7 separate regions of the Homo sapiens genome follow, and regions 1, 2, 3, 4, 5 and 6 are each linked to region 7. Evidence: promoter capture Hi-C in human tissues and cell types (Jung and others, 2019). All regions are on one chromosome and are shown on one strand. The core of a region is centred on a gene start or on the middle of the fragment in contact, and the rest is flanking DNA. Distances in the headings are between cores, read along the strand shown.

Region 1 (2,823 bases), core at 201-2,700, 570 kb before region 7:
AGCAGATTTGATTTTGAATTATTTTCACAGTTCTTTGTTTCTGCTTTCTTCAGGCCTGTTCTGTCTGTACACGTAGCCTCTGCTCTGCTCATTGGATGCTCATTCTATTTTATGGAACAAAGTGTTGCTGGATTCTAGAATCGTAAATAAAGCTGTTTAAGATCCTTAAACCACATTATTGTAATTTTGTCTTTTGATATTTATGTTAACCCTCATGTATGTATTGTTTTCTTTCCCTGAATTATTTGAAGTTAACTTACAGAAATTGTGAGTCTACCTCTTTAAGCATTTCAACATGTTTCCAAAGAATATATTCTCAGGCATAACCACAATGTCTTTGTTGTGCTTTTAAAATTTAATGATAATCTTACAATATCTAATGTTTAGTCTGCATTTAAATTTTCCCAGTTGTCTTAAATGTGTGTGTGTGTGTGTCTGTGTGTTTTTTCTTTTGATACAGGGTCTCAGTTGCCCAAGCCGAAGTGCAGTGGCTCGATCATGGCTCACTGCAGCCTTAACCTCCTGGTCTCATGTGATCCTCCTACCTCAGCCTCCTGAGTAGCTGGTAGCTGGTACTACAGATGTGCACCACCACCCACAGCTATCCTTACTGTGTTGATTGATCACTTGAACTCCTGGGCTCAAGTGATCTACTCCTCAGCCTTCCAAAGGATTAGGATTACAGGCATGAGCCATTGTGCCTGGCCTTAAGTGTCTTTTGTAGCTTTCGCCAGCCCCCTCCCCCCGCCCCAACAAACCGTGTGTTTAGGGTTTATTCATTGTGTCTTATTGTTGAGTCTTTAGTCTCTTTTAGTCTAGAGCAGTATGTCTACCATTTTTCTTTTTTGACACTGACTTTTTGAAGAGTATGGCCCACTTTTCATGTACAAAGTCCACCTTTCTAATTTGTCTGTTTCCTCATGGTGTTGTCTAAGTTGCTTCTGCATCACCTGTATTTCTGTAAACTAGAAATTCGATCTAAAAGCTTGACTAGATTTTTTTTTTAATATATTTTATATTGCCACATTTCACCTGGAGGTAAAACATTTTTGACGAGTATTTTATAAGTGATATAGTCTGCTTTGCGTCATATCACATTAAGAAGTGAATAAAGCAAGGTTGATTCCCTTTTAATGATGCCAAATTGTTTTATCTTTCAATTCCGTTGTAGTGAAGGGTCAAGATTGCTCCATTGTAAAGCAGTAACATTTTCCCCTTTATAATTAACGAGTAACCTGTGGAGTTACTTGTTTTGATACCGTACAATTATTGTTCTCCAGCAACCTTTCTCTTGATAGTTTTAGCAACTATTGATGGGTCTCTCTGAATGCAGGACCTTCTTCTTAATGACCTTATAATAAAGCTCCATTTGACAATATTTTCCGTAACACTTGAAGGTTCTGCTAACCTAGAAATAATGCTAACTCTGAATCTAAAATTTTTTTGTTTCCTTCAGTTTTTTCCTTCAGTTTTCATTTACAAAGTTAATCACTTAGTAGAATAACTTAAGGTGAAGATGGTATATCTTTAAAAAAACCTGAGCAAATTAAATTTAGCCTTTTCCAGTCAAAGAAGAGTGGGATTTGTTTTAGAAAAGCTCTAGTTCATCTGAATTTTGAAAGCCTTACATGGCAGCTGTTAAAACCAGGGTTTTCATTAGTTAGCACTCATTAGTGTTTTCCTTTTGATCTGTCTCTGCATTTCTTTCTGGTCTTAACAGGAGTTAGGATAAGATCAGGTGGTTGAACTATTTATTACTTGCAACTCAAAAAAGAGAAAGGACTCTAAAATTTTATTTTATTTTTTAGATTACATCTCAACATGAGGGAAGGACTCTTTTTTCTTTTTTTTTTTTGAAATGAAGTCTTGCTCTTGTCGCCCAGGCTGGAGTGCAGTGGCACTATCTCAGCTTACTGCAACCTCTGCCTCCCGGGTTCAGGCGATTCTCCTGCCTCAGCCTCTGGAGTAGCTGGGATTACAGCTGCCCACCACCATGCCTGGCTAATTTTTGTATTTTTAGAGGAGACCGAGTTTCACTATGTTGGCCAGGCTGGTCTTGAACTCCTGACCTCAGGTGATCGTCCACCTCGGCCTCCCAAAATGCTGGGATTACAGGCGTGAGCCACCACACCCAGCTGAGGGAAGGACTCTTATCTGGAGTTTTGCGTTCTAATATTATTCAAATAGCCACCATGTATCCTTCCCCCACTGCGACTCTTCCTTCTACTCCTGTCTTAAATTTTTAGTTTATTAACAAGTTCAACTTGAAATTTTAATGAAGTGGAAAACAGCAGAAAATACTGCTAAGATAAGCTTAAATCTGATAGGAGGGTACATACTTCAGAATATCAGTAAGTTAAAATTTTCATTTCATTGAATGAATTTGTTAGGATAAATTGATTTTATGTAGTTTTAAAATTTCTTTAATCTGGCTGGGTGCAGTGGCTCAGGCAGAATTTTTTTTCTTGATCTTTGAAGTCATTCTGTAAATAGCACAGAAAGGGAGTGGAGTCATGGGATGTTTTTTAAAATTGGGAAATACTACATTATGGTTTGTGGGTTTTTTGTTTGTTTGTTTGTTTGTTTTGTGACAGTCTTGCTCTGTCACCCAGGCTGTAGTGCAGTGGTGCGATCTCGGCTCACTCTAACCTCTGCCTCCCGAGTTCAAGCAGTTCTCCTGCCTCAGCCTCCTAAGTAGCTGGGATTACAGGTATGCACCACCACACCTGGCTAATTTTTGTATTTTTAGTAGAGACCGGGTCTCGAACTCCTGGCCTCAGGTGATCTGCCCACCTCGGTCCCCCAAAGTGCTGGGATTACAGG
Region 2 (2,894 bases), core at 5-2,504, 620 kb before region 7:
TATGGGAAAGATGTTTCTAAACATTGTAAAAACTAAAGAAGCAGTGTAAGAAAATAGTGCCAAATTTGATTATACACAAATTTTAGGCCAGGTATGGTGGCTCATGCCTGTAATCCCAGCACTTCAGGAGGCTAAGGCACGAGGATAACTTGAGCCCAGGAGTTTGAGACTGCAAGACCTCCTCTCTACAAAAAATAGCAAATTGGCTAGGGCATGATGTTATGTGCCTGGGACCTCATTTACTTGGAACGCTGAGGTGGGTGGATTGCTTGAGCCCTAGAGGTTGAGGACACAGTGAGCTGATGATTGCACCACTGCAGGAAAATAAATACCATAAACAAAATAAAAACCGAAATAAAAAATTGGTTAAAAATTTTGCTACATATGTGACAACAGACTAATATTCTTCAACATGTAAGGAGTTCCTGTAAATCAAGGAAAAAAGACAAAATCCAAATAGATTAGACCACAACATGGACAATTTACAAGAAATAAATTTCCAATTTTTTTTGTTTTATTCTCTTAACAGCTTTTTTGAGATACATTTCATGTACTATATACTTTACTCATTTAAATCATACAATTCAGCTTTTATATATTCATACTTATGCATCTATTATCATAATCAATTTTGGAATATTTTTATTACTCCAGAAAGAAATGTAAGCACTTGACAAGTTCTTCCTGCCCATTGTGTAACTGCCCAGCGGGTTCACCTTGCCCTCTGCCTAGACAGAGCTGATTTATTAAGACAGGGGAATGGCAATACAGAAAGAGTAATTCACTCAGAGCCAGCTGTCCAGGAGACTAGAGTGTTATTATTACTCAAATCAGTCTCCCTGAGCATTCAGGGAGCAGAGTTTTTAAGGACAATTTTGTGGGTTGGGAAAAGCCGGTGAGCTGGGAGTGCTGATTGGTAGGGGATGAAATCACTGGGAGTGAGAGCTGTCTTCTTGGACTGAGTCAGTTCCTGGTTGGGGAAAATAAGATCAGATGAGCCAGTTTATTGATCTGGGTGGAGCCAGCTGACACATCAAGTGCAGGGTCTGCAAAATATCTCAAGCTCTGATCTTAGGAGCAACTTAGAGAGGGTCAGAATCTTGTAGCCTCCAGCTGCATGACTCCTAAACCATAATTTCTAATCTTATGGCTAACGTTAGTCCTACAAAGGCAGTCTAGTCCCCAGGCAAGAAGGAGGTCTGCTTTGGGAAAAGGACTATTAGGGTCTTTGTTTTAAACTATAAACTTTAAACTATAAACTATAAATTAAGTTTTTCCCAAAGTTAGTTCAGCCTACCCCCAGGAATGAACAAGGACAGCTTGGAGATTAGAAGCAAGATGGAGTTGGTTAGGTTAGATCTCTTTCACTGTCTCAGTCATAATTTTACAAAGATGGTTTCAATTGCAAAGACAAAATTATAATAATTCACTGAGACCACGAAATTGCAGTAAAGGAAGACTTCAATTGATGTGAGGCTGGTCACATCACATGAGAGACGGAGTTACTACTCAAATCAATATTACCAAAGGCTTAAAGGTTAGGGTGTTTTAAAGATAGTTCGGTGGGCAGGGAGTGAGGTTATAGGTGCTGATGATTGGTTGAGGATTCAATCATAGGGGTATGGAAAATGATCCTTATGTCTGAGTCGGCTTCTTGGTGGGTGCCCCAGGACTGGCTGAGTCATGGGCCTGGGTGGGGCTATCTAGTAGTAAAAAATGCAAAGTCTGGAAAGACATTTCAAAACGCCAATCTTAGGGTCTACGTAGTGATGTTATTTACAGGAATAATTGGGGAAGTTGCTAATCTTGTGACCTCTGGAATAATGTCTGGTAGCCATTTAAGTAATTTTGCAAAGGCAGTTTCAGAAACCATGTACTCCTTAGCCATTACCCCTCAATTCCCCATTCCCCCCAGTCCTAGGCATCAATATAATTTGTCTCTATGAATTTGTCTTTCAATTCATGAATATAGGATGCTTTTAAACTTATTTTGGACTTTAATTACCTTCAACATTATTTTATTCTTTTGGAATCTGTTATAAGTAGAATTGTTTTCTTAACTTCATTTTCAGTTTGTTCATTGCTACTGTATAGAAATACAACTGATTTTTATATATTGATCATACATCCTAAAACCTTGCTGAACTCATTTATTAGTTCTAAGAGTTTTTTTTTTTTTTTTTTTTTGAGACAGAGTTTCGCTCTTGTTGCCCAGGCTGGAGTGCAATGGCACTATCTCCTGAGTAGCTGTGATTACAGGCATGTGCCACCACACACGGCTAATTTTGTATTTTTAGTAGAGATGGGGTTTCTCCGTGTTGGTCAGGCTGGTCTCGAACTCCTGACCTCAGGTGATCCGCCTGCCTCAGCCTCCCAAAGTGCTGGGATTACAGGCATGAGCCACCGCATCTGGCCTGTTAGTTCTAAGAGTTTTTTAGAGGATTCCTTAGGAACAAATTACTTTTAAATATATGAAAAGAGATCAACTTCTCCTATACTAATAAGATAAATGCAAATCCAGATTACCACAGGATATGATAAATTCACCTACTAAATTGGCAGATCTAAAATTTTGATATCATTGTGTAGATGATATCATTGTGTAGGTGTTGTATCTATTAAGACAAATACTCATACTTTGTCTTCAGAATTCTGAAACCGCCATTGCAAAAGTATAACCGAGACAGTAGAAGAGATCTAACCTAAGACTATACTTTCAGGGATCATTTCTATAGTTCGTTACTAAAGAAGTTTCTCTGAACGTGTAGAGCACCGGTACAAACAAATGGAAGAACATTCCATGCTCATGGATAGGAAGAATCAATATCGTGAAAATGGCCATACTGCCCAAGGTAATTTATAGATTCAATGCCATCCCCATCAAGCTACCAATG
Region 3 (2,746 bases), core at 83-2,582, 680 kb before region 7:
CCCCCTCACTCCTGCTCCCGCCTCCTGACCAAAACCTGGCACTCGGTTTTGGGTGGTCTGCCATGAGCAACAGAAAGCAGAACAACATGCAGCTTGGAGGATATGGAAAAGCCAATTCTCCTTACATCATCCCAGGATTTTCAGATGGTGCTTTTTTAGGAACTAGAGGTTCTTCCAGTACTCAGGACCACACAGGATGAAAAGCTGAGGGAAAATGCCTGTCCCCACCACCTTCCAACCAGAATAGCCGTGGTTTTCATCTGTTTTGGTTACTTCTGAGAAGAAAAATTTCCCATGAAGAAAGAGGTTCTCTGGTTTCTGAGCATTCTTAGGCTTGAACAATGCTGGAACACTCCGCAATTTAAAAAAACTAGATAAGGAAACTGAGGTCCATGAGGGGAGGCCCCAGGCCTGGAGGCAAGCTCCAAATAACATAGAAGCCGTTCTGGTCCACTTGCAATTTTGATTATTTCATGCCCAGTGACCCATTTTATCCCACAAATCAAGAGAAGAAACAAGCTTTGTTCCTGCCTTCTAAATTTAGCCCGTTAGGCTGGCAACTAAACTGTGTTAGGCGGTCTCCAAGCAATACACCTGTGTTTCTCATTACGTCTTTCATTTCCATGGTTTTGATCCTTTCCCACTTTGGGAACCAATTTCCTTATCACATTTGAATAACTTCAGTGGTGAGCCAAAAAACAACCAGGATATTCACACTTAAATTCATAGCATTCAAAATCTAATGTAGTGATTCTCACTGTGTATTTTATTTTTCAAACAAGAGGGGGCCTAATTACAATAGACTCACACAGATTGCTTAATATCTAGTGCTAGGCTTTTACTGATAAGACATCACATGCAAAGCACGTTGAAATACAGCTGATGTGTCCATCAGCATGGGCGATACTCAGAAATACTCACAACTATCAAATTGCTCAGATCCCTCAAACACAGAATCTCACTCTCTTGCCCAGGCTGGTGTGCAGTGGCGCTGTCTTGGCTCACTGTAACTTCCGTCTCTTGGATTCGAGTGATTCTCCTGCCTGAGCCTCCCAAGTAGCTGGGATTACAGGCATGCACCACCGTGCCCAGCTATTTTTTTTTTTTTTTTTTGTATTTGTAGTAGAGACGGGGTTTTGAGATGGAGTCTCACTCTGTCACCCAGGCTGGAGTGCAGTGGTGTGATCTCAGCTCACTGCAACCACCACCTCCTGGGTTCAAGCGATTCTCTTGCCTTCCGAGTAGCTGGGATTACAGGCATTTGCCACCACACCTAGCTAGTTTTTGTATTTTTCGTAGAGATGGGGTTTTGCCATGTTGGCCAGGCTGGTCTCAAACCCCTGACCTCAGGTGATCTGCCTACCTCGGCCTCACAAAGTGCTAGGATTACAGGCATGAGCTACTGCGCCCGGCCACAAAGTTGATAAGTTCTAAGCAGAGACTGGAAGAGGAAGAAAACACTTAGTGCATTGTTCGGCAAAGAAATACTTTAGAGATAATGAAGTATTTATATTAAACATAATCTCCCCTTTTTCTACATCTCTGGGTCATAATGTCGAACAGCTGCTGTTTCTCTGTCACACGGTGATGACGTTTTCATAAATGGCGGAGGTTTATTTGCTACCTTCATCTCGTAGTGGGACATAGGAAGTCATGGAGGAGGGGTGTTTTGGCCAAACAGAACATGGAGCGATGATTCCTGGGCCTAAATGGAAACAGACCACGCTGGGGCGCTATTAGGAAACTTCACATGCATTGACTGGATAAGCAAGAAATAGAGAAGTGCCTCTCCTCTATCCAATATTCCAGAGCCTTAGCCATAGGTCACCATACCTCACACAGGGCCAAAGAATCTTGTAATACACTGATTAGTCAACATTTGTATGCAGACAGATCCCTGTAAAAAATATTCTCCAGAGCCCTGTACCCCCATTGTACCCCTGTTGGGTGGTCAGGCCGCCTAGAGCTGAGATCAGGCTCACTGCCTTGATGTCAGGAGGTGGAGGAGGAGCAGTCGCCCTGGAACCAGTGGGTTCTTTCCCTACCTCCCTTTCATACTTGTTCCTCACTGCCTCTAGGGCTAACAGCATGCCTAAACTCTAGCTTGCCAAGTGCCTTTGGCCATTTCCTCACTTCATCCTTATTTTAAATTTGTACAATTTCATATCTCTATAAAGCAGACATTTGAATGACAACTGGAAAGTGATTTCAGTTCAGTCTAGTCTTCTTAATGGAAATTCCTTGTGACTCTACATTTTACTTATTTGACCCCAAATCCTTTTTTTCTTTGTCTTTTCTTGTTCTTTCTTTCTTTTTCCGAGTATCTCTCAGAAGTAGCATTTCAAAGATTCAGGAGGCCGGGTGTGGTGGCTCATGCCTGTAAGCCCAGCACTTTGGGAGGCCGAGGTGGGTGGATCATGAGGTCAGGAGTTCAAGACCATCCTGGCCAACATGGTGAAACCCTGTCTCTACTAAAAATACAAAAATTAGCCAGTCATGGTGGCGAGCACCTGTAATCCCAGCTACTCAGGAGGCTGAGCAGGAGAATTGCTTGAACCTGGGAGGCAGAAGTTGCAGTGAGCCGAGATTGTGTCACTGCACTCTACCGTGGGCAACAGAGTGAGACTCCGTCTCAAAAAAAAAAAAAAAAAAAAAAAAGATTCAGGAAACCTGTGTCAGGAATCACTAACTCAGAATGCAGTCCTCAAATCCCAGCTGAGTTCCTCTACAGCCTATTAGGACTCAG
Region 4 (2,700 bases), core at 172-2,671, 590 kb before region 7:
GTGTGTGTATGTATTAAGGCATTTGTTACAGTGATTTGAGTTCACACAGTGTAGGAGGAGCTGGCTTAAGCAGTTTTTTTTTTTTTTGAGATGGAGTCTTGCTCTATTGCCCAGGCTGGAGTGCAGTGGCACAATCTTGGCTCACTGCAACCTCCGCCTCCTGGGTTCAAGCGATTCTCCTGCCTCAGCCTCCCGAGTAGCTGGGACTACAGGCGTGCGCCACCATGCCTGGCTAGTTTTTTTGTATTTTTAGTGGAGACGGGGTTTCACCATGTTGGCCAGGCTGGTCTTGAACTCCTGACCTCGTGATCCACCCGCCTCGGCCTCCCAAAGTGCTGGGATTACAGGCGTGAGCCACCGTGCCCAGCCGTTAAGCGGTTTCTGTCAGGCTGTTGTCTTTGTGATTGATGCTGGAGTTTGAAGTCCACAGGGCAGTCATTTGAGAAAGGAAGATGGATGTAAAGTGGGGAAGAAGAGGACACAGGAAGCCACAGGCAAGGTACATGGAAACCATGCTAGTTCTAGTTGCCTTTGTTCCTGCTTGTGTGGGTGGCCTGTAAGAGTTGGATCCTTGGCAAATGTAGCCCAGGAGGCAGAGAAGCTTAAGGAGAGCCCAGAGGAAGGTGGAGTGGATGCAGCTGCAATTCTAGGCCAACCACTGCCTCACACGAATGGGGTGAGTCAGAAGATGAGCAGCAACAGTGTGTGCAAGCTGCAGGGTGGTTGCTTTATCTTCTGCACCCTTCAGTTGCTGCACAAAAATCTCTTGTGAGCCATGCAAGTTGGAAACATAAAGGAAAGGAAATTCTGGGGAATGTAGTTCAGCTCAGCCAAGTTCAAACCATACAAAGCAGAATGATCAGCTCAGGCTTTTAAATTTTTAGCTCAGGCTACACGTAAGGGACCCGAAGGTTTCTGTGACTGCTCTAAAAATGCAAATGTAATTCCTAATTTGTGGGTGAGATCATTGATTGGTAGGAATGGAATCCTGAAAATTGGATTGGAGGCATATGGTCAGATTCTGTTTAAGCTGGAGTCCTTAAATCCTTAAATGCTGCTCTGCTGCCTTTCCCGGAGAAGCAGCCTTTCCAACCCTTCCCAGAGGAACTTAATCTCCGTTTGCCTGAAAAACCTGTAATTGGCCTCCCTTTGGGTAGTTGCCCAGCACGGTACTGTCTTCCTCAGAATCTGCCCTGTAATCCTTCTTTCTTGTAGATCTGTGGCTGGACTGTAGTTGCAGCAGGCCCCAGAGAGTGAGGTGACCCATGAGAAAGGTATGCTGCACTCTAAAAGATTGTATAGTTTTGCCACTGTATAGTCAGGAGCCTGGAGGAGTATTTGATTTGTGGCAATGGATCTTAGGGGTATAGTATAACAGTGGAAGGAACATAAAGTTGAATCAGGCAGAATTTATTGATGTGGGCTCACTAAGCAGAGATTCTGGGTTCAGTGTTATAGTTCAAGGAGATAGAAAGGACTCTTAACAGTTGGGTTAATTGACTGAGGCCCATCCACAAGGCCTGATGCCTCGGTTAGATTTTTTCTGGCCTAACAAGGAACTCCACTGACCATTCACTCACCTTCTATGAGAGTCTATATTTGGCCTGGCGTGATGGCTAATACCTGTAATCCCAGCACTTTGGGAGGCCAAGGCAGGAGGATCACCTGAGGTAAGGAGTTTGAGACCAGCCTGGCCAACATGGCGATACCTCATCTCTACTAAAAATACAAAAATTAAGCGGATATCATGGCCCATGCCTTAATCCCAGCTACTCGGCAGGCTGAGGCAGGAGAATCGCTTGAGCCCAGGAGGCAGAGGTTGCAGTGAGCCAAGATCATGCCACTGCACTCTAGCTGGGGTGACAGAGCGAGACTCCGCCTCAAAAAAAAAAAAAAAAAAATTAGCCGGGTGTGGTGGCTTGTGCCTGTAGTTTTAGTTACTCGGGAGGCTGAGGTGGGAGGATCAGTTGAGCTGGGGAAGTCGAGGCTGCGGTGAGCCATGATCGTGCAACTGCGCTCCAGCCTGGGCAACAGAGTGAGATTCTAATAAAATATTAGTTCATAAGGAAAGGTTCACCTAAATGCATAGCCCTTAAATAACTTGCATTGTTGGTGGAACTGTACTTTGCTAGGACCTTTTTGGAGGATGGCTGCACTAAAACAGAATTTAAAATGCATGTGCTCTGTTGATCCAGCAGTTTCACTGCTAGGATTTTATTGTATAGATGAATTTGGACAGTATACAAATACGTTATGTTTAAGGTTTTTCATTATATCAGTGTTTGTGATCGAGAAAAATTAGAAACAACTGTCCAATAATGGAGTTAAGGTAGAGTAAATGACCATTATACCCATACACTGGAATATTGTGCCACTGTTAATAATAAGAGGTTGATAGGAAAAAAAATTCATACAGCCATCCCTCCATATCAGGGAATTGGTTCCAGGACCCACACTCCGCCTGCCTCCCCGCCTGCACCCCACCCCATGGATACCAAAATCCATGGATGCTCAAGTTTCTTATATAAAATGGTGTAGTATTTGCATATAATCTATGCATATCTTTCTGTATACTTTAATCTCTAAATTACTCCTAGTATGTAATACAGTGTAAATGCTATACAAATAGTTATACTGTATTGTTGAGGGAATAACTACAAGGAAAAAACTTTATGTGTTTGGTACAGATGAAACCATCAT
Region 5 (2,914 bases), core at 38-2,537, 790 kb before region 7:
GCCAATCTTGTTTTATCTACTCTCCACCCCTTCCTCTCCTCACCACTCAATGTTTCTCTGGATCATTTTAAGGCAAATTCCAGGTTTTCAGTCTTAAATGTATCACGTCTGTCTAAAAATAAGCACTTAAAAAAAACCTAATCACAGCACATTATCATACTTTCCCAAATTAATATTTCTTGATTTCATCTAATACCCAGTTTGTTTTAAAATTTTCTCAAAAATAACTTTATGCAGTTGGTGTGTTCAAATAGGCTCTATGCAAAGTCTACATCGTGCATTTGATAAATCTCTTAAGCTCTTTCAATATGTGATACTTCCCCTTCTTCTTTCTGGCTTTCAGGCCATATGTTTGGTCTGCTCAATTTTCCACAGTCTGGATCTTGATGAATTGCATTCTTATGGTGTAACTAACACATTCTTTTGCTTCTTGTATTTCCTGTAAGCTGATGTTTACATTTAGAGGCTTGTTTAGACGCAGGTTTGAATTTTTTTAGCATGAAAGTTCCAGTTGCACTGCAGAATGTCTGGTGATCCCAGGTTTAGCACTTTTGAGGTTGATCAGTTAAAAAGTAGCTGTTTGGGAGGCAAAGGGCACATGTTAGTCGCCTTTGCATGCCCATTGTCAAGCACAGCATTGTGCCTAGAGCAATCCCTGGCAATGTTTACTGAGTTGAAGCAGTTGATGAAACCCAGATTTGTGAGACTTCAGATACAAATCTTCTATTCTCAGCTGAGATGCCTAAACTTTATTAATTCACATCTGTATGTTGTAAAAGTTCTATTTTATTTTACGACCTTAGCCAGTTTTGACCAGTTCACCTTGGCTGCGGTTGTTTCTGTTTCATCTTTTTCTCATAAATAGTGTCAACCTTAAATAATGAGATTCAGAAAATATGACTAAGGATAGAGTTTATTCGAGTGCAAAGCTTGAGGATAGCCACTCATGAAGCGTCAGCTCCAAATGAATATGGTCAGCATTCCCAAGTGGAGAAGTTAAGGTTTCACTTTTACAGACAGAGACAAAGACATTTTCAGAGGATTACAACATTTTCTATAGGAGACCAGTGCATACATTAAAGCAATTTGATTGGTCACAGATTGCTACGTGCCAAGGAAGATTACTTTATTACTCAATGAGGAGGGATGGTGATCTGAGGAGGTCTTCTCTCTCGTGCTGTTTGGTCTTCTTAATTATTCACAGGGGGAAAAAAAGGCGGAAGTTGCCGCTGCACGTGACTCAGGCTGCATAGCCACATTTGTCTCAAGGCTCAGAATAACTTAAAGTTCCAACAACTTGAAGTTTGAATTATTTAATTTCACAATAGAAATTAAAACAAAGATTTTAACGTTTCTTAATAAGAAGAAGCCATCTTCATGCGAATTGTGAAATTTTTAAATTAAATATATTTTTAAAGTTAGTAATTTACTCAAGCGTTGTTTAGACATTGTTTTAGAAACTGGTATCTTGAGTGTCTATGCTTGTCATCTTTCATGATGAATGGTCCCTGTTTATTTGCAAAACTTGCCAATCTGCCAAAGCTTTATTTGCTGGGAAGTTAGCATGTCTGGGAAAGTAACACTTTCTTTTTGCTTTAGTAACGTATAAATATTTTTAAAAAAGGATATACATATTTTTAGGAAAATATTCTTAGCAAACCCAAGATTGAGATCTATGAGTTCATTTTTCCCCTATTTTTCTACACCTTTAAAAAAATTCCCCTTTGGAGATTGAAACAGGAGAAAGGGTAGGGCCCAATATCACACAGGGACAAGAGTTGAGCCTGGGAGAGTCTTGTATTCAGGACCCAAACTGGGTGCAGGGCTGGCTCATTAGGAGTTGAAATGCCTCTGCACCAGTCACGGGTGGAAATAGGTGCATTCACATGAACATGGTTGCATCAGCTTCATCCACAGGAGCCCTGAACCCGTCATTAACCTGTGATCTGGTTGGAATCTATGTACCCTATGGGTCAATGTGAAATTACTTCTCAGGGAGGCAACCACAGCTGAGGGAGTCCACAAGGTAAAATTTCCACAGAAGATAAACTCACATGTAAGAACTGCAAAAAACATACAAGAATGTCTAGTATTGTGACAATAGTAAACCCAGGTCTGCTGCATACAGACCGTACAATTGTAGGTGTGTAATTCACATTGATCACAATTGCACACTCATACACACACCCCATGCAAAACCTTACGGTAGGAATTCTAAAGTGACCTGATAAAAATATTGAATCCTCAAATTGATAACGTAGAGAATGACATTTGTGGAACAAGAACATTCAAAATTTTTAAATGCCATTATGGCAAGGGAACAGATGAGTATTTTTAAAAAATCAGATCTCTGGCCTGGAGTGGTGGCTCACGGGGCCAAGGTGGGTGGATAACTTGAGGTCAGGAGTTCAAGACAGACCAGGCTGGCCAACATGGTGAAACCCCATCTCTACTAAAAATACAAACATTAGCTGGGCATGATGGCACGTGCCTGTAATCCCAGCTACTCGGGAGGCTGAGGCAGGAGAATCACTTGAACCGGGGAGGTGGAGGTTACAGTGAACAGAGATTGATCCACTGCACTCCAGCCTGGGCAACAGAGTGAGGCTCTGTCTCAAAAAAAAAAAAAAAAAAAAAAGAAAGAAAGAAAGAAAAGAAAGAGGTGATTGGGAGCTCTAAGAAGAAACTCCTTTGACTCCGATTTTGGGGAAGGAAAAAGTATTAGTTATCTCTGAGATGAATAGCTGAGGTCATTATTGATCCATTTGATGGGGCTAAGTGGCATCTTGGAAAAAAAGACCCTCAAGCAGAAAACAGAAAACCTCTGTAACTCTTCGGGCTTCAGTTTCCTTTACAAAAAAAAAAAAAAAAATCAAACAACAAAAAACAGAATTGAAATTGATGGTACACATTA
Region 6 (2,833 bases), core at 217-2,716, 910 kb before region 7:
AGAGCAGTGGCACGATCATAGCTCACTGCAGCCGCAAACTCTTGGGCTCAAGAGATCCTCCCACCTCAGCCCACCAAGTAGCTGGGACTAGAGGCACATGCCATCTCAACCAATATATATATTTGTATTCTTTGCAGCAGGGACAAAGATAAAGATACGAGAGGTGTTGGGGTGAGTTGCAGAGAAGAAGGCAATAAGTTCTATGGTCTCGTTTCCTGTCTGTTAAAATGGTTTTCGTGAAGGAGGTAAGATGTCAAGAATGACGTGTGAGACACTGGGAGCTCCTTTCTGGCTGGCAGTCAGTTGGAGCAGGGATTGGAAATGTGAGTGGACTAACCCTCCTGAATGGTGATGATGTGCCTGGGAAAGGGTCCTGATCCAGACCCCAAGAGAGGGTTCTTGGATCTCATGCAAGAAAGAATTTGGGGTGAGTCCATAAAGTGAAAGCCAGTGTATTAAGAAAGTAAAGGAATGAAAGAACAATGACTCCATAGGCAGAGCAGCCCCAAAGGCTACTGCTTGGCTATTTTTATAGTTATTTCTTGATTGTATGCTAAACAAGGGGTGACTTATTCTTGGGTTTTCGGGAAAAAGGGGTGAGCAATTCCTGGAACTGGGAGTTTCTCCCTTTTTTAGACCATATAGGGTAACTTCCAGATGTTGCCATGGCATTTGTAAACTGTTGTGGTGCTGGTGGGAGTGTCTTTTAGCATGCTTATGTATTATTATTAGCACATAATGAGCAGTGAGGACAACCAGAGGTCACTTTCATCACCACCTTGGTTTTGGTAGGATTTGGCCAGCTTCTTTACCACAGCCTTTCATCAGCAAGGTCTTTGTGATCTGTATCTTGTGCTGACCTCCTGTCTCTCCTGTAACTTAGAATGCCTAACCTCCTGGGAATGCAGCCCAGTGGATCTCAGCCTTATTTTATCTAGCCCCTATTCAAGATGGAGTTGTTCTGGTTCAAATGCCTCTGACAATGAGAGGGCAGATGGGGGCTGGAGGAGACCAAACCCCAGCAGCCGGGGTGTCCAAGGCCATTGGCTCTCGTCCCACCGAGCACTGGGTGGAAGTTGAGTCTATACTGGAGAGTACGATAGTGTATCTAGATCAAAGTGCTTTGAGTTCAGAACGAGGAAAAAGAGCCTTATGAAAAACGATGGGACTTAATTATTTTTCTGGACTATTTATCCTTCGTTTGTCTTTCTACATAAAGACAAATTCCAAAGAATATTCATTGATTCATTGATTTAAATAATTTTCTAGTGGGAAATTCAGCACTTAGTTTCTAGAGGAATGAAAGGTACATGCCTGAAAGGACTTCTCTCTCGTTAAAAAGTGTGATTAGGGGATTACCCAGAATGCTCTGCGTTGCATTTCCCTGTGGCTTTCATTACAGCCGCTCCTTCCTCAGCAGGTTCCATAATTATACAAATGTCTTAGCATTTCAAGTGTTTCATTATTCATTTGTTGCTCACCAAGATCACCTAAGGCCTATTCAGCTGCAGAGATGACTCGCTCAATTCACTGGCTGTGGGTTTAATTTTTGATTTGGGTCTTTTATGTTTCGTAGGAAAGATGAAAATGAAAGATAGCATTTTATGCTTGCAGACTTAGCTTTTATTCTTTATAGTCTTTATATGTGATCCTACAGACTGTTCAGTGCTTGATTCTAGTTGTACTTGCTTGCAAATGGTAGGCCCCATCATTGTAAGCAATTTTGTCTACTTGAAATATCTAATTTACTGTCATTCCTTCATCTAAGCAACAGTCTCTTCCCCATCCTTTGGGTCTCAAGGCCATGGTACCATCTGCTTCTTCTATTTAATCATTCTGTAATAAAATGTTCAGTGAAACTCATTTCGGAATCCCAATTTTGAATAACAAATGTTATTTATTTATTTATTTATTTTTTGAGACGGAGTTTCGCTCTTGTTTCCCAAGCTGGAGTGCAATGGCACAATCTCGGCTCACCACAACCTCCATCTCCCGGATTCAAGCAATTCTCCTGCCTCAGACTCCTGAGTAGCTGGGATTACAGGCATGCGCCACCACACCCAGCTAATTTTGTATTTTTAGTATAGACGGGGTTTATCCACGTTGGTCAGGCTGGTCTTGAACTCCCAACCTCAGGTGATCTGCCCACCTTGGCCTCCCAAAGTGCTGGGATTACAGGCGTGAGCCACCACGCCCGGCCAACAAATGTTATTTATATATAACTTCTAAAAAAATTTATACGGTGCTTCTCAGCGATATGTATATGGAGGAATGATTCAGTCATGTGAAACAGATAAAAGAGATAAATCCTTTTGACAAACAACAAGAAGCTAACATCTTTTCAGTGGTTTAATTAATCATTTGGCTGTTTTAATTGTCATTTAGAAGAGTTCAGAAATTCAAATACTTATGGAGTCAAGCAAATATAAATGTGTGTTGTGCTGGGATATATAAAACAATAAGAATGAAGTGAAACACACTTATAATCGCACCACATTTTTCGAAAATTAACCTTTTATTTAGAGAAAATTGTGTACTCACTTGCAGTTTTAAGAAATAATACAGAGAGATCCTGAGTATCCTTCACTGAGTTTCTCCCAATGGTAACATCTTGTAAAACAAGTATCACGGTAGGATGTTGATGCTGGCATAGTCAAGATACAGAACATTCCCAGCACTCCAGGGATCCCTCATATTAATCATTTTTGGCCCCTGGCTTTCCCATCCCAACCCTAACCCTGGGCAATCACTAATCTTCACTAGATTATTCCCCATTTCTATAATTTTGTAATTTCATTTTTTCTTTCTTAATTTTGTAATTTTGAGAATGATA
Region 7 (2,752 bases), core at 52-2,551:
CAGCCTCAGCAGGCAGAGTCACTTGCCTCCTTCAGCTCAATTGCTGAGGGCTTGCGTTTCTCTGCAGGGAACAGGAGTGCCGCCGACTTCCACTCTTGGTGCCCTTCACCGCTCAAACTGCACCCCAAATAAGCGTATGCACCCTGCTCCAAGAGAAGGATGCGCTGGGCTGATCCTCTGGAGGCAAGAGGGCAAAAGACAGAAAGTAACGAGCGGCCTTTGCACAAACTCAACTCTCTGCAGCGGCCCCTGCGGCCCAATCCTGCCGGCCCAGGAATGCACGGTCGGATAACAGGCCTCTCCTTGCTTTTTCGTCTTCTTCCTCCCGCTTCTCTCCTCTCTCCTTTTCCTCCTCCTCCTTTTTCTTTAATTTTCTCCTTTCTCCCCAAGCTTCTACAGTTGTTTCTGTGTTCGCTCAATCATGGCCTTTGGCATTGATTGAAAATTTGGCAGTTCCTTCTCTCGGAATTCTGTTTGAAGCCTTCATATGGATTTATTATTATTATTATTATTTTTGCCACACAAAAGGGGCAAATCCGCGTGAGGAAGGGGGTCGCATGGGGGTCGGCTGAGATCTGCTGGCTGCCGGTCTAGGAGGGGCGCTGCTCTGTGCCGGAGTGGGCTCTGGTGCACCAGCAGAGGCTGGGGGAGAGTGCTGCCCCCGCCTGGAGCCCAAGTCTCTGCGTGCCTGGGGGTAGAGCGCGGAGAGGGACCAGGCAGGCGCCGGAGGGGACCCGCGCGGAAAAGGAAGAAGCCCAAACAAAAACGCTGTCCGGCGCCAGGCGCCCACCTGCAAGCCCAAGCCGGTGCTCGGCCAGTTACAAAAGAAATGGTCAGGATCTGGACAACGATAATGATAGTATTAATCCTCCTATTAAGAATCGGCCCAAACAAACCCTCGCTGTCAGGGCGACAGGCGCCCGCCCAAGCCCAGACCTCGGACCTGGTTCCAAGCCTGTTCCCGCTGGGTCTCTGGGCGCCCGGTTTCTGCACCTGGAGCTCGCCCGATGAGGACAAGGTCTGGAGGCCGGCCTGGGAACAGGGGCCGAAGGGCGAGCCGGACCCTAGGGGATTGGTAGGGTCGGGGAGAAGGGGTCCAGGCTAGGGGCGGGCGGGGCGCACGGAGACCAGGCGGCTTGAGCGGGAGGTGGGGAGCTGGAGGAGTGCCGGGTTCGCGGGCGGGGGACGGGGAGAGGGGGGCGGGGAGAGGGGCGGGAGTCGGGGGCGGCGAGGGGAGGGGCGGAGCGCGGGTCCCGCCCCGGCGGGCCGCTGGAAAAGTTTAGTCTCTGACTCGCTCGGGCAGAGGCCGAGGAAGCCGGTTCCGGGGACGGGCAACAGGGACTCAGGGACCAGAAGGCGGCTGCAGGACGCGACCGAGCAGGACCCCAGGCCCGGGAACGACGTCGCGAGCGCTGAGACTGCCGGGCCTCCCAGCCCATCTGGCATTCGAGCGCAGGACCGGGCGCCCCGGCACCGCCGCGCGCCACCCGCTAGGATGCCGGTGGCCCCAGCGCCCTCAGCCGACGGAGGTGAGAGGCGGGCCCGGGCGGGGCGCGGAACCAGGGTGGGGGGCTGGGGGCCGAAGGACCCACCTTTCCAACAAAATCCCCACCGATCCCGGGCGCGACGGGGACTTGGGCGCGCCACGGCGGCCGGAGCGCTCCACATCAGCACCCCTCCCCCAGAGCCGCTGCAGGAACAGGGAGGAGGCCTTTTCCACCGCACCCGGAGCGTTTACAACGGGCTGGAGCTGAATACCTGGATGAAAGTGGAGAGGCTGTTCGTGGAGAAGTTCCATCAGTCGTTTTCCTTGGACAATTAACAAGTTAGGCTTCCACAGTGCCAGGGCCTGGGGATGCTGGACGTGGGAGAGGGTTGTGGTCGTTAGCCTGGGAAAATCATTCTTTTAAACAATATTCGCCGGAAAATTAGTTTTTTCCTAACATTTCTCAAACAAGGCAATTAGGGCCGTCAGAATCGGTGCTGGAAGACGAAGTCCCCACAGTGCAATAATGAGGTTCCCACGGAAAATCAGTACGTTGTGTTCGTAACTGAGATAACAGCTAGAGAAGGGGCTTTGGGCTTTTTGAGTCTCCCAATAGTCAGTCTCTCTCTCTCTCTCTCTCTCTCTCTTCCTCTGACTTTCTGGCTTTGGACACTCCCAATGGTATATTTCTTTGTGGTGTTTTTATATTTGGATATAAGAGAGGAACTTCTTGTTGGATTTTTAAGGGAACACACTTCGTTTTGACCCTTCCAATAAGGAAAGGGGAGCTACAGGAACAGAGAGCTCTTTAGAAGGTTACTTTTAAATGGAGGCCCCCCCATTCATGGTACCCACTCCCACTTGGACCTCTGAGACCTCCAGAATTAGGCATCATTCTAAAATCTGGACATTAGAAGTCACAGACTTTGTATATAACCACATATTCATAATTTATCTTTTCAATGTTTTTTATTCATAGATGAAAATCTTGCAGGCATAGTTAAGAAAAATATAATTCCTAGAAAGTACAAGGGAAGGATTATGCTCTGCAGATACATGACTAACAAGGATAGCTGGCCATGCCCAGGGCTGGTGTTGGTTGAGGAGGTGGTGATGGTGCGGGGCATGTGTGTGTGTGTGTGTGTGTGCGCTTGAGGAGTTGTGGAAGTGTTCATATCTGTAAAGTATTATTTCATGGATGCAGACCTTAATGCTAGGTTGAATAACTTTGTTGCCATAGAAGAAGAACCGCACGTCAGGCTTTTT

What was found. The method cuts DNA at HindIII sites, captures the fragments that hold promoters and counts their contacts. A contact is called where the count stands out against the background at its distance.
Region 1: a contact is called between a fragment that was not itself captured here and the fragment with the promoter of S1PR3 in region 7, in 4 of the 25 tissues and cell types used here (dorsolateral prefrontal cortex, heart left ventricle, pancreas and 1 more).
Region 2: a fragment that was not itself captured here is called in contact with the fragment with the promoter of S1PR3 in region 7 in 1 of the 25 tissues and cell types used here (dorsolateral prefrontal cortex).
Region 3: a contact is called between a fragment that was not itself captured here and the fragment with the promoter of S1PR3 in region 7, in 2 of the 25 tissues and cell types used here (mesendoderm cells and thymus).
Region 4: a fragment that was not itself captured here is called in contact with the fragment with the promoter of S1PR3 in region 7 in 3 of the 25 tissues and cell types used here (dorsolateral prefrontal cortex, lymphoblastoid cells and mesenchymal stem cells).
Region 5: a fragment that was not itself captured here is called in contact with the fragment with the promoter of S1PR3 in region 7 in 1 of the 25 tissues and cell types used here (aorta).
Region 6: a fragment that was not itself captured here is called in contact with the fragment with the promoter of S1PR3 in region 7 in 1 of the 25 tissues and cell types used here (dorsolateral prefrontal cortex).

The regions. Positions count from the first base shown.
Region 1 is chr9:88,420,872-88,423,694 of GRCh38, forward strand. All of the region lies in intron 1 of SPIN1 (spindlin 1), which reads left to right. Among named protein-coding and RNA genes, the nearest start is that of SPIN1, 34 kb to the left of the region's middle. The HindIII fragment of the contact is 4,331 bases long and covers 1-2,823 here.
Region 2 is chr9:88,371,565-88,374,458 of GRCh38, forward strand. It overlaps the pseudogene LOC124902359. Among named protein-coding and RNA genes, the nearest start is that of SPIN1, 15 kb to the right of the region's middle. The HindIII fragment of the contact is 7,070 bases long and covers 1-2,894 here.
Region 3 is chr9:88,308,802-88,311,547 of GRCh38, forward strand. No RefSeq gene overlaps it. Among named protein-coding and RNA genes, the nearest start is that of SPIN1, 78 kb to the right of the region's middle. The HindIII fragment of the contact is 7,995 bases long and covers 1-2,746 here.
Region 4 is chr9:88,398,963-88,401,662 of GRCh38, forward strand. All of the region lies in intron 1 of SPIN1 (spindlin 1), which reads left to right. Among named protein-coding and RNA genes, the nearest start is that of SPIN1, 12 kb to the left of the region's middle. The HindIII fragment of the contact is 9,312 bases long and covers 1-2,700 here.
Region 5 is chr9:88,197,494-88,200,407 of GRCh38, forward strand. No RefSeq gene overlaps it. Among named protein-coding and RNA genes, the nearest start is that of SPATA31C2, 60 kb to the left of the region's middle. The HindIII fragment of the contact is 3,061 bases long and covers 1-2,818 here.
Region 6 is chr9:88,084,258-88,087,090 of GRCh38, forward strand. No RefSeq gene overlaps it. Among named protein-coding and RNA genes, the nearest start is that of LINC03026, 7.8 kb to the left of the region's middle. The HindIII fragment of the contact is 5,231 bases long and covers 1-2,833 here.
Region 7 is chr9:88,990,167-88,992,918 of GRCh38, forward strand. It overlaps S1PR3 (sphingosine-1-phosphate receptor 3), which reads left to right and starts at 1,302. Exons shown (of 2, transcript NM_005226.4): 1 at 1,302-1,529. RefSeq lists a silencer at 848-1,142. The HindIII fragment of the contact is 13,055 bases long and covers 1-2,752 here.